Linked DNA regions of Homo sapiens: all the other regions are linked to region 4. Evidence: promoter capture Hi-C in 16 types of primary human blood cells and fetal thymus (Javierre and others, 2016). All regions are on one chromosome and are shown on one strand. Each heading gives the region's core, a stretch centred on a gene start or on the middle of the fragment in contact. The rest is flanking DNA. Distances are from core to core; before and after follow the strand shown.

Region 1 (2,700 bases), core at 184-2,683, 370 kb after region 4:
TGATAAAGAGGCCAATGGAGACTAGTGGAGGAAAGGAAGCCACTTGGAGGAAAATCTACGCACACCAGCTCTCAGCTGGCACCAGTTGCCACACATGTCAGTGATGCCTTCATGGATATTCCTTGGCTGAGTTCTCAGGGGATTGCAGCCACCTAAGAGACCCTAGGAGGGCCCCTCTGAGCCTTGTCCAAGTTGTAGAATTATGAGCCAATAAATGGTGGTTGTCATCTTAAGCCTCTAAATTTGAGTTAGTTTATGTAGTAATAGATAACCGAAATTCCTTCTTTCTAGAGAATATTTTTCCTTTCAATTGCAGGGACTTTCCACAGGATGGGAACCTCATCCAATTTGATCATTATATCCTCAGCCCCTAACAGCCCATAATAGGTTTCTAATAAATATTTGTGGAATTCATAACACAAAATTATATACTACAGCGTCTATACTGTATTATGATGCTCTATTTCCTGGCTATTTTTCTCCCTTTCAGGCCATGAGCTCCCTAGCTTTGAAGCTTCCATTTATTGTTGATGAATGGTTGACAAAGTTCTAAGAGATTTATATATGTAACAGTATATTAAATGGAACTTTGACTATTGTCTATGGAATTTTGGTTGACTGAAAGCTGAGAACAGAGCGACAAATACTCCTGCATTCTGAAGATGGGTACTAGACACATTTGCAGCACATGCCAAAAAATGACTAACATATTTTCAGATGCTTTAGTCCATTCTTCACTTCTACTTAAGAGAAAGACGGAGAGGAAATAGGAATTTGTGATTAGGGTCCAAAAGCTAAAGCCCAGAGAGTCTGAGTTCAAGTTTCCTCTCTGCTACTACTAGCTGCAAGATCTTGGCTAAATTACTTAGCTCTGTACTTTCATTTACTTACCTATGAAGTGGGGTGACTATAGCATCTACCTCATAGGGATGCTGTGAGGATTAAATGCGTTATTATATATGGACCAGGCAGTTCTACATCTAGAATTCTTAGAGCAGTATTTAGCTCATAGTGAGGGCCTATAAGTGTCAGCACTGTCATCCTCAGTACTGTCAGAGTGAGTAAACATCTCTTTGAAAACAATGGGCTACCTGGTGGAGGGAGATACATTTCCTAGCAGAAAAACTCAAGTTTGGGGTGATTAGCCCGAAGGGGACTGATATTTCACTCATCACTCCACCTCACCCTCTAGCTGAATGATCGTGGAACTGAAGAAACACCTAGACACTTCCATAGCTGCTGTGGGAGTAGACATGGTGAGAGAATTCTGGGCAAAATTAATCCGCATCCTCTGGCACATGGAGGTACTGAAACTGCAAAAGTCCAAAGGAGAAGGTTAGCAGAATGAGGAGAAAGGCTGAGGTGGGCATGTCACACACTGTCAGGATTGGAGGGGTGAGGATGCTGAGTTTCCCACTAGCTAAGTGGACGCTATGGATGGGCAGTCTTAAGAGTAGAGGCCTCGTGATAGGGCTATGCCCAAGAGGACGGCCTTTCCAAGGGCAATCTCAGCCACATGGGTAGAGGTGGGATTGGGGAGGAGGTGCTTCCATGGAGGTAGAGGAAGGCACTGAAGTGCCTGTGGGTGACAGTCAGGGTTTGGCCATCTGCCACACACAGGGCCTCATGCAGATCTTCACAGTGCAGCTAAGTCAATTGACCATTTTAGTCCTTGCTATAAACTAAATATTTGTGTCCCCTAAATTCATATGTTGAAACCTAATGCCTAGTGCTATGGTATTAGGAGATGGGGCCTTTGAGGGATAATTAAGTCATGAGGGCAGAACCTTTATAAATGAGATTAGTGCGCTTTTTAAAGAGGCCTTGGGAGCTCCCTTACCACTTCTGCCATGTGAGGTTACGGTGAGAATATAGCTCTCTGTGAACCAGGAAGAGGCCCTTACCACACACCAAATCTGCCAGTGACTTGATCTTGGACTTCCCCGCCTCCAGGACTGTGAGAAATAAATTCTCTGTTGTTTATAAGACACCAGTTTATGGTGTTTTGTTATAGCAGTCTGAACTGTCTAAGACCACCCTTTACCTTTCCTCCTTCCTTCTGCTGCAGTCCTGGAGAGGCCAGAGGAAGTGGAGGAGGGACTGAGAGTAAGGAAAAGCCCCCCGCTTCCCAACTGCAGGTTACTGAGCCTGGTGTAGGCCTGAGCTGGGGAAAGAGAGAGCCTTTGAATTGGATGAGAAATTGAAGTTTTAGTGTTAGGAGAATCTGAACTTTATTGATTTCTGAGAATCAAACTTTTCTAATGTCTAAAAAGTGACTGATAATGCTCTGAGCTCAGCCAAGATAGCACTGCTGGAGGAGTTGGGGTGCAAGGTGAGTGGGCTGAAAGCTTATGGTTGAGAATAATGTCTGTCACAGCAATATATTCATTTATATTGACATCATCTCATTTTATCTTCACAACAGCTCTGTATTAGTCTGTTTTCACACTGATGATAAAGACATGCGAGACTGGGCAATTTACAAAAGAAAGAGGTTTAATGCACTTATAGTTTCACATGGCTAGGGAGGCCTCAAATCATGGTGGAAGCTGAAAGGCACGTCTCACGTGCTGGCAGATGAGAGAGAGAGAGAGAGAGAGAGAGAGAGAGAGAGAGAGAGAGAGAGTGTGTGCAGGGAAACTCCTATTTTTAAAACCATCAAATCTCAGGAGACATATACACTATCATGAGACCAGCACA
Region 2 (2,700 bases), core at 41-2,540, 480 kb after region 4:
ACTTGTGATTTCACTGAAACCACTCATCTCCCCACAGACACTGGTTTGGCTATATAATGGTTGAAGGCATGTCTGGATGTTTTAATGATGTGACCATACTGCATTGTGACATGATGTGGTCCAGAGATACTGTGGCCAGAACCAACCTGGCTGGCTGAGCCATGTCTAAATCACAGCAAGTTTGTCCAGGGTTGAGGGTCCAGCTTGGAGTGTCACAAGTGTTCTGCCACAGTCTTTCTGAATCTGTTCCTCCTCATTAGGATTAAGATGCTGGAGGACAGGACCCAGGACTCACAATTCTGTTCTATTTCCCTTTCCCTGCTACCCTCCCCCACGGTACTGGAACACTCCTGGGCACGTACGCGAGTCTCAATAAATGCTTGGTGGATAAACTCACATTCCTGGTGACTAGTCAAAGATGTGTCACTTATTATGAAGTGTGCCAAAAAAGTCACTCACTAACTTGTCCAGTAAGCACTTTAGCAATTTAATCTGTGAACCAATTACTTCAGTACAGTTTCCAGAAATAGAGTTGTTCATCCTTTGAAGCAGGTTAATTGTCAACTGATATTTTATCTTTGTTGATTCATCTGACGGACAATTAGGGCTTCTAAAGTGTCAGGCACGGTGCTAGGCACAGAGGAGCACAGAGAAAATCATAACACTTCCCACGAGGTCTCAGAGGGGAGTGGGCTAGACAGTCGTGTCAGCAATGCACCCAGGTCTCTGAAGGGCTGCATCAAAGCTCTGTGGGCCAGCGGGGAAAGAGTGATTCAAGGCAGGGAGGAGTTGTGGGGTTGTGAGGTTAGATTGGCTGCTGGAGTCTCCTTCCTTAGACATTCTAAGCTGACTGCTGGCCTGGTTCCACCAAGGGGATCCGGGTGCATGACTCTGTTTGCCTTCCCCACTAGATGGGCTCACTGATGAGAGCACACTGTTTTCTGGAGCTTGTCCACATATGCTCCAAGTTGGCTTTTTCAAGAAGCAGGATAAAGAAGAACATTAAGGAGAGTCAGAATGAGGTTCAGGAAGCCTAAAGCCCAGGTCTCCTCTCTGAGGGAAGCTGGTGGCTCTAGCCTTCTTCATTCCCCAAAGACTTTGGAGGGATGGGGTGAGGTGTTGCAGAATATCGGGGAAGGACTGTCTACAAGATGCTCACTGGTTAAGACACTCTGAGGGTGGAACACTACAACACAACTTTCTTCACAAAAAAATCAATTTAGGAAATAGCATCAATGTAGTTTTGGAAGCATCTTACATTCTCATTCAAATGTAATGGTTTTATGGAGTCCTATGTGGAGGGTGGAGGGCATGCATATTCTTGGAACTTAGATGACCCATTTATGTGAATACTGGAACAGCACTGAGAAAAATGCCACTGCTCTGTAGCCTCTAAAGGGTTAACATCAGGGCATATTTGAAACTTGGCAGCCAAAGGCAGCTGTGTGACCTTTTATTGTGAAATCAGATTGGAAGCTGTAGCACAAAGCAGGGGGTGGAGAGTGGAGCCAATGGCCCTGAAGACTGCAGGAGCGGGACCCTCACACCCTGTGGTTAGTGACTGAGTTTGAAAAGCAAGCCAGAATGAAGCCTGTATCTCCAAGGGGCATTTCCAAACCAGTAATTGAAGACTTTTTACAAATTAAATTTGTATTTCTTGCTGTCCTTTAATTTTTAGTATGTACTAACAATACAGATTTGCTAAATCTGGAAGTTGGTAAGCAAGCATGTAATCATTGGTAACTCCTTATCCAAGAATCTCACTGAATATTTCATATGCTGCCTCATTAATGCCTGTCCCTGCCCATTGATCTCTGGCAACTCTAGGGTATTGCTTACTCCTATTTTACAGATGCAGAAGATGAGGGAGAGAAAATTAAATGCCTTCATGGAGAATTAATCATGCAACAGAACCAAGAGCTCTAAGTGTTCTGGCTTCCAGTTCTTGGCCTTGACAGTGAAACTGAGCTTTTTTTTTTTCTCCTAGGAACAGCTAGAACTTTCACTTTATGGGGCTGACAAAGAAAATCACCATTTGCTGAAAAGGTAGTGAAATGCCTACTTCTTAGCTCTCTGGTCAAGGCAAGTTACTTGAAAGTGCTTAAAGGAGGTTGATGTAAGACAGATCCAACCGTTTTGTCTCAATTGCAGTGGTGGCTCAGCCACAACTAACCAAAAAAAGTGGGGGAGCAAAATCTAAACCTATGACTGAACTGAATTCCCTGTTTCTTTGATTGAATTTACTCTTCTTTAAAATGTTACTGAATTTACTGGCTAATTAATTACAAGAGTTGAACTGGTGGTGAAACTTCCGTGGACGACTTGTGTCCATGCCTTTCATGTGTTTGGCTTAAAAAATCTATACAATGCATAGAGCTGGGTGGGAGGTAAAGTGAGTCAAAGAGAATGCTTTCCAAGCCATATGCTTGCCCTCCAAGGTGACCCCTAGCTACCTCCAAGCTCTCAGACAGTGGAAGGCCATAAAGAGTGAAGAGGTGAATTCTGAGAGTGTTAGAAAAAGCTGGGAGATTGCCTGATTCCTGTTGAACTTCAGACCCAAAATGTATGGCATAAGCAAGAAACTAGAAATTGGCCTAGGAGGCAGTGGTAATCCTTTTTGGTCAATTAAGCCTAGAAATAAGCAGAGATTTAAAAAACAAAAATTAGACTCAGAATTAAGCTGTTAAGAGGCTACTGCCC
Region 3 (2,700 bases), core at 101-2,600, 310 kb after region 4:
AGGAAGGATAAAGAGATCAGCGTTTTAGTCATGGAGCTCATCTTTGCCCATTCCTACTCATTTGCTTTTTCATAGGAGTTTTTTGTTGTTAAACAGTTTCTCTCAAGCCACATGCATTCTATGCTGGCTGAAAATTAATAGTGATGTAGATGTTCATCCGACAAGCTTTTCCCCATGTGATTGGTTTTAGCCAGAGTTTATCACAGGTACAAAATTAGGCGGTATGACTGTGCATGTTCTCTAGCTGATGTTGAAACTTGTACTGTCTTGATCATTTAAAACTATGTTTTTGTAAATATCAGGTTTAGTCCGCTTTCGGGAATATCTGCATGCTATGGAAAGAGAGAAAAAAAGGATAGATAATGAGGAATTTGGTTTAAAAGTGTGATAAAAATCCTTGGCATTCTTTGTTCTGATATTAATTGTATTTAAATAAGTCAACCCAATGTAACTCATTCCAGATCTTAGTCCAGCTGCCCTGTTCAGCCTGATGCCTTTTAAAGGTTTAAAGGTGTTAATGTTTTCCTTTTCAACATGGCAAACATTTTTTAAAACCTTTTTGGCACAATGGTGCCACTGTCCTCATAGTGTTATTTCTTTGGTCATGAATTTTCAGGCCCTTCCAGTAAGAGGAGAAAGGCACTTAACTGGTTAACAGCCCCATTATTATACATTGCTCTAAGGAAAAAAAAAAAAAAAAAACTTTGAATATATCAAGAATGGGCTATTCCAGAGGCTTCTCCTCAGGAGAAACTATGCACTAGGTTCCCACCAAATACAATGTGACCTTTTTTTCCCCTTTCTCTGTACACACCCCAGATATGTGCCAAGCAAATGAGAATGAGGGCCGTTGACAATTAAAGCATAAAGAAGCTAGTCACCAGATTGAGATGGACATGCTGCTAACTGCTGACAGCTTGACCTGAGCAGTCCTAACTTGTATCTGGTCTGTTAGCATTGGGTTAGATTGACTAACAGAGTAAATAAAATTCACCTGTCATAAGACACGCTACATCTGCTATCATCAAGAAACAAATCATCCAGAAGAAACTTTTTTTCATCCTGTGGTCACACCCTTTTCTTAAGAGCTTCTTTTTTAAAATTATGACAAACGAATTTCATTCTTTAAAATCACTTATCTTCTCCCAAACTTGAAGTATTTAAATTAGGTGGTTTTGCTTTTCCCTCTCATTGTTTATTTTTTGGGGATGGATCTAAATGAGTAAGATGAGCAATAAAAGATACCAGAAAGACTGGAGGGATCACAGTGTTTTCATCAGAACTAAGTAGAGGGTCGGTTCCTGCCCTGGTTTTGGGGTAGCTAGAAAAGGAAATCATGAATGCACTGGAAATGTTGGCTCGAGAGAAAAGACTGGCATAGCTCTGCCTCGCAGTGGGTGAGAGCGTATTGATCGTAGGGACCTGCAGAGTTCCTATGACCAGGTGAGTCGGCTCTGAGGAAGGGGTTAGGAAAGCAAGTACAGCTGCATGAAATAGCTGAAGTTCCTTTGGGGTCAGGAAGAGCCGACAATTGTGGGGTTTTGGTTGCTTTTGCTTTGTTTTTGAGTGGGAAGTGTTGCTGGAATCCCCTGAGAACCGAAAGATGCCAGGGGTCAGCAAGGCTATAGAAAAGGCCAGTGGTAACACCTCGTTTTCATCCTAACAGAGGAGTAGGTGCGAATGGCACCAGCATGGATCGTTCCTTTCTTGATCATTACTCATGCTTGCCACTGTAGCAACACAACAAAGCCATGATTGTAATTAATACTAGGCTAAAGACCTTGATCAAAATGGGAGCTCATTTACTGTTCTATGAGGTATGTAAGTAACTTCTCTTCACATTTTCCCTCAGAGATAAACCACACGTGGTAGTCTTGTTTGCGTTAGTACTAAGGTCATGTTTGATCTGTCCCAGACGAGTCGCATATTTCCTGTAGCTGGAGTGTTGCTCACCATAAATGGTCATTTTCAAAAAGTATTGTGTAATTCCAGCTGTACAACTGACCAGTGAGTTATCTGTCATCACTGTTGCCCACATACCCGTCCTTCCTTGTGTAGTTTCATCATCCTCATCCTTCCCACATCTTGCGCAAAATGATTTTCTGTGCTCATTCGGCAATAACTATGTTATTCGGCATACTGTCTTTTTGGCATTTGTTGAAAAATCCAAATGCTTTTAATCCAAAAGATTAATCCAAATCTTTTTTAATCCAAATGATTTTAATCCAAATCCAAATAACAGGAGGTTAAAAAAAAAAAAAAAACTAAGCATTTTTACATGTACACTGAATTGGATCAGCATTATTGTTCATTATAATGCTATATATATTTTTGGAGCAACATACTATAGTTGTCATAAAACTATCTTTATTCTTCTCCTCTAAAGTGCTGTTGTAAATTCATTTGACCTTTACTGCAGGAAAAAAAAAAATCTTTTTTATATAGGATATGAAGACCAAGGCTCAGTCTGTAACAAATAGTGGACCATTACAAAAGAGGAAAGAAAAAAGCCAGGGCTGAGCAGCAAGAAGCTTCAGTTCAATTTCACCTCGTATCTTTCTAATAACATACTTGTCACTTTATTACCTTCCAGTAATGTGAACGCTGCTGACAAGACTGTCACACTAACAGCAGACAACACCCTCTCTGCTTCAGCCCAGCTCTCCTGGCTACTTATTGCCCTGGCCCTGAAGGGACACA
Region 4 (2,700 bases), core at 173-2,672:
CCGCCTGCACACCTGACAGGCAGCTGTTAAACTGAGCAAAGGCAAGCTTGGGGAGTCACAATCTATGCATAAATGATAGGGATATCTGTGCAGAAGGTGCGAAAGAAGCTCTGACCCCCTCCCTCCCCCAAATCTCCCCCTTCCCAAATGAAATGCACAGTTCAGCCAGCTTCTTAACTACACTACACTCCTGCTACTGGCTGCCAAGAGGCTCAAAAAATCCACCTTCACTTTTCAGTCAGAAGAGGCAGAAGTGGATGTGAGAGAAAGAGAGACACAGAGAGACAGAGAGCCAAAGAGGGCAAGAGACTTGACTTTAAGAGACTCCTGTACTGACAACTCCATGCAGTTCGGAACCAGAACGACTACGGCTGAACCAGGGTTCATGGGGACATGGCAAAACGCTGATACTAACCTCTTATTCAGAATGTCCCAACAGGTAAGTTACTTTCTTTCTTGATTTTTTTTTTCTTTTTTTTAAGAAACCTTGAATTGTTATGGGCACTTTTGTTTCTGGTGTTTTTCTTTCTAAATACTTTTTAAAATGTGGTCACTTCCTAGTTAGGCTCTTGTTTTGTCATAACTGTGTTACTGGAATGTGCAGGGTTACTTCATGGTTTCCCTAAGGGCGTCTTAAAAGAAAAAGGGGAAAGGATACCGAAGTAAAAGAAAGCAGAGACATTGTTGAAAAGTTTCACAGTACAATCTGGGTCAGGGGAAGACTTAATTTATTTCTTTGTTTTCTGTTGAGAATGAAAAAAGCCACCTCCCAACAAATGTATCTATCAATATGAATCACTTCGTCCAAAGTGTTTGCTCTCTCGGAGTAGGTTCCGCAACCTAAAAAACAGTCATCAAATCTCGGGGCCCCTCAGAACAGCCCTACTGACTTCATGTGGCTGGAGGCAGCTTCGTTCAGACCTGAGAAGAGAGACGAGGCTGTGCAGGCTTGGCTGCCAGCGCCGAGGGTTGCTGGAGGAGTCGGCGTGCGTGGCGGGCTGTGCTGCTCGGTCCTCGCTCCTCCGCTCCGCTCCTCCTTGCCAGCCAGCCCTCTGCGCCCGCCCCTGCATTCCCTTCGCCGGCTCCGGCCCGCTCTCCCGCCCGCCCGCCGGCCCGCCGGCGCACTCACTCGGGCGCAGCCTCGGCGTCTTCCCCAGAGCCGCTCCTCCGTCCCGGCCGCGCTGGAGGCGTTCGGCTTGCTGGCTCTGCTGGGAAAGCCGACGTGGTAGCGCGAGGCCATCGGTTACTGATAATTAATCACCGGAGCCGGCGGCTCGTACCATGCGCTCCGTGATACGCGCCCTGTGCGCCGGTCTCCTCTTGCACAATTGCTGGCTCCTTGGCTCCGCGGGGGAGCGAGGGTGAGAGGAAGCGAAGGGGACACAACCCAGAAACTTTCATCTTGGATTGTGCTCAAGTGAGGGAGGGAAGTTCCCTGGTGCCTCCCTCCTAGACACGTCTTGCTTTTCCAAAGCCTACACCAAACCCACACAAAGCAAGTTAGTTTGATATTATCATCCACACACAAAGCAAGTTAGTTTGATATTATCATCCACACAGCACGAAAGTACTATTGACAAATATACTTGGATTTTAAGTTGACGGCGGTTATTAAGAAATGTTGTGCCACTCAAGAGGAAAAAAATACTGCAACTGCTTTTTTTTTTTTTTTTTTTAAAAAGCTTTTGTTTGTAAGAGTTCACGAAAATTAAATACTTTGAGTTAGATATTTAAAGTTGTTGATAATAAAAAAAAAACAATTTGCCAGGCTATAAACTACTACAAGTTTAGAAATACATTTGCAAGCGATAATACCTACAACCAGGGTTTTGTAGCATTTAGCTAGAGAACAGTTTTAGCACACAATTCTAAATAGGATAAATGCATTTGAATAAGGTATATTTTGACATATCCTGTAGAGGGACCCTGATTACTGCTGATACAGTAAGCTGGGATTTAAATGCAATCAACATCAACCCAATAAGTAACTCTTCATGTGCAATTTCCCATTCTTTCAAGTGAAAAGTTCATTTCCACACAGAGATGCTCCTTGTCACTGCAGAGCGCTGTGAGAGGTGTTTTCCGCGACGCATCCCTGCCTGGGTGGCTCTCGCGTGTTGGAATGCAGTGTTTTCGCTAACCTTAGTACCAAATAACTTGTGCTTCACTTTTAAAACTAGATGTCACCTTCAGGGTTTTCCTTGAGTTAGTGGAGGTCGTGTGTGTGTGTGTGCGTGTGTGTGTGTGTGTTAGAAGGGAAGATTGGCTTACGTCTCCCTCTAGCTAGAAAAGAGTTAATAAAACCAGATAGAGATAATGATCAATTGATAAATGGCTATTGAACCACATAGATGGTGTTAGATTGCTTATTTGGCACTAGCCCATTTCCAAGTAGATTTGAATCTAAGGAGATTTTGTCATGGAAAACATTTTAACTAAAAAACAAATAAAGTAATATAAATGATGGGTCAGAATTAGGACAATTTATGATGTCTTTGATCCAGCTGTCTGACTGTGTGGATATTTTGTGTGTACCTGTGTGTGCATATATGTGTAATGGTGAGCATCAGTGATTATATGGAGAGAATAGAAATATAGGGAACTAATTTATGCTTAATGGATGCTATTAAAACTGTATAATATTATGCTATTTATGAAATAGAGTAGTACAACAAAAGGAGAGAAATCACAGTTTTAAAT

What was found. Contacts are between HindIII fragments. The CHiCAGO score rates a contact against its expected background, and 5 or more counts as called.
Region 1: a contact is called between a fragment that was not itself captured here and the fragment with the promoter of BNC2-AS1 in region 4, in 1 of 17 cell types (endothelial precursors). The highest score is 7.0, in endothelial precursors.
Region 2: a fragment that was not itself captured here is called in contact with the fragment with the promoter of BNC2-AS1 in region 4 in 1 of 17 cell types (endothelial precursors); the score reaches 6.9 in endothelial precursors.
Region 3: a fragment that was not itself captured here is called in contact with the fragment with the promoter of BNC2-AS1 in region 4 in 1 of 17 cell types (endothelial precursors); the score reaches 5.3 in endothelial precursors.

The regions. Positions count from the first base shown.
Region 1 is chr9:16,359,231-16,361,930 of GRCh38, reverse strand. No RefSeq gene overlaps it. Among named protein-coding and RNA genes, the nearest start is that of LINC03041, 84 kb to the right of the region's middle. The HindIII fragment of the contact is 1,834 bases long and covers 517-2,350 here.
Region 2 is chr9:16,245,077-16,247,776 of GRCh38, reverse strand. All of the region lies in intron 1 of LINC03041 (long intergenic non-protein coding RNA 3041), which reads left to right. Among named protein-coding and RNA genes, the nearest start is that of LINC03041, 30 kb to the left of the region's middle. The HindIII fragment of the contact is 5,400 bases long and covers 1-2,700 here.
Region 3 is chr9:16,412,921-16,415,620 of GRCh38, reverse strand. It overlaps BNC2 (basonuclin zinc finger protein 2), which reads left to right. Exons shown (of 7, transcript NM_017637.6): 7 at 1-2,700. LOC124902125 (a long non-coding RNA gene) reads right to left here. Exons shown (of 3, transcript XR_007061425.1): 3 at 245-332. Among named protein-coding and RNA genes, the nearest start is that of LINC03041, 140 kb to the right of the region's middle. The HindIII fragment of the contact is 2,366 bases long and covers 168-2,533 here.
Region 4 is chr9:16,725,536-16,728,235 of GRCh38, reverse strand. It overlaps BNC2-AS1 (BNC2 antisense RNA 1), which reads right to left and starts at 1,422. Exons shown (of 3, transcript NR_151723.1): 1 at 1,281-1,422; 2 at 1,130-1,205; 3 at 712-921. It overlaps BNC2 (basonuclin zinc finger protein 2), which reads left to right. Exons shown (of 7, transcript NM_017637.6): 3 at 239-439. RefSeq lists an enhancer at 1,338-1,839. The HindIII fragment of the contact is 1,636 bases long and covers 49-1,684 here.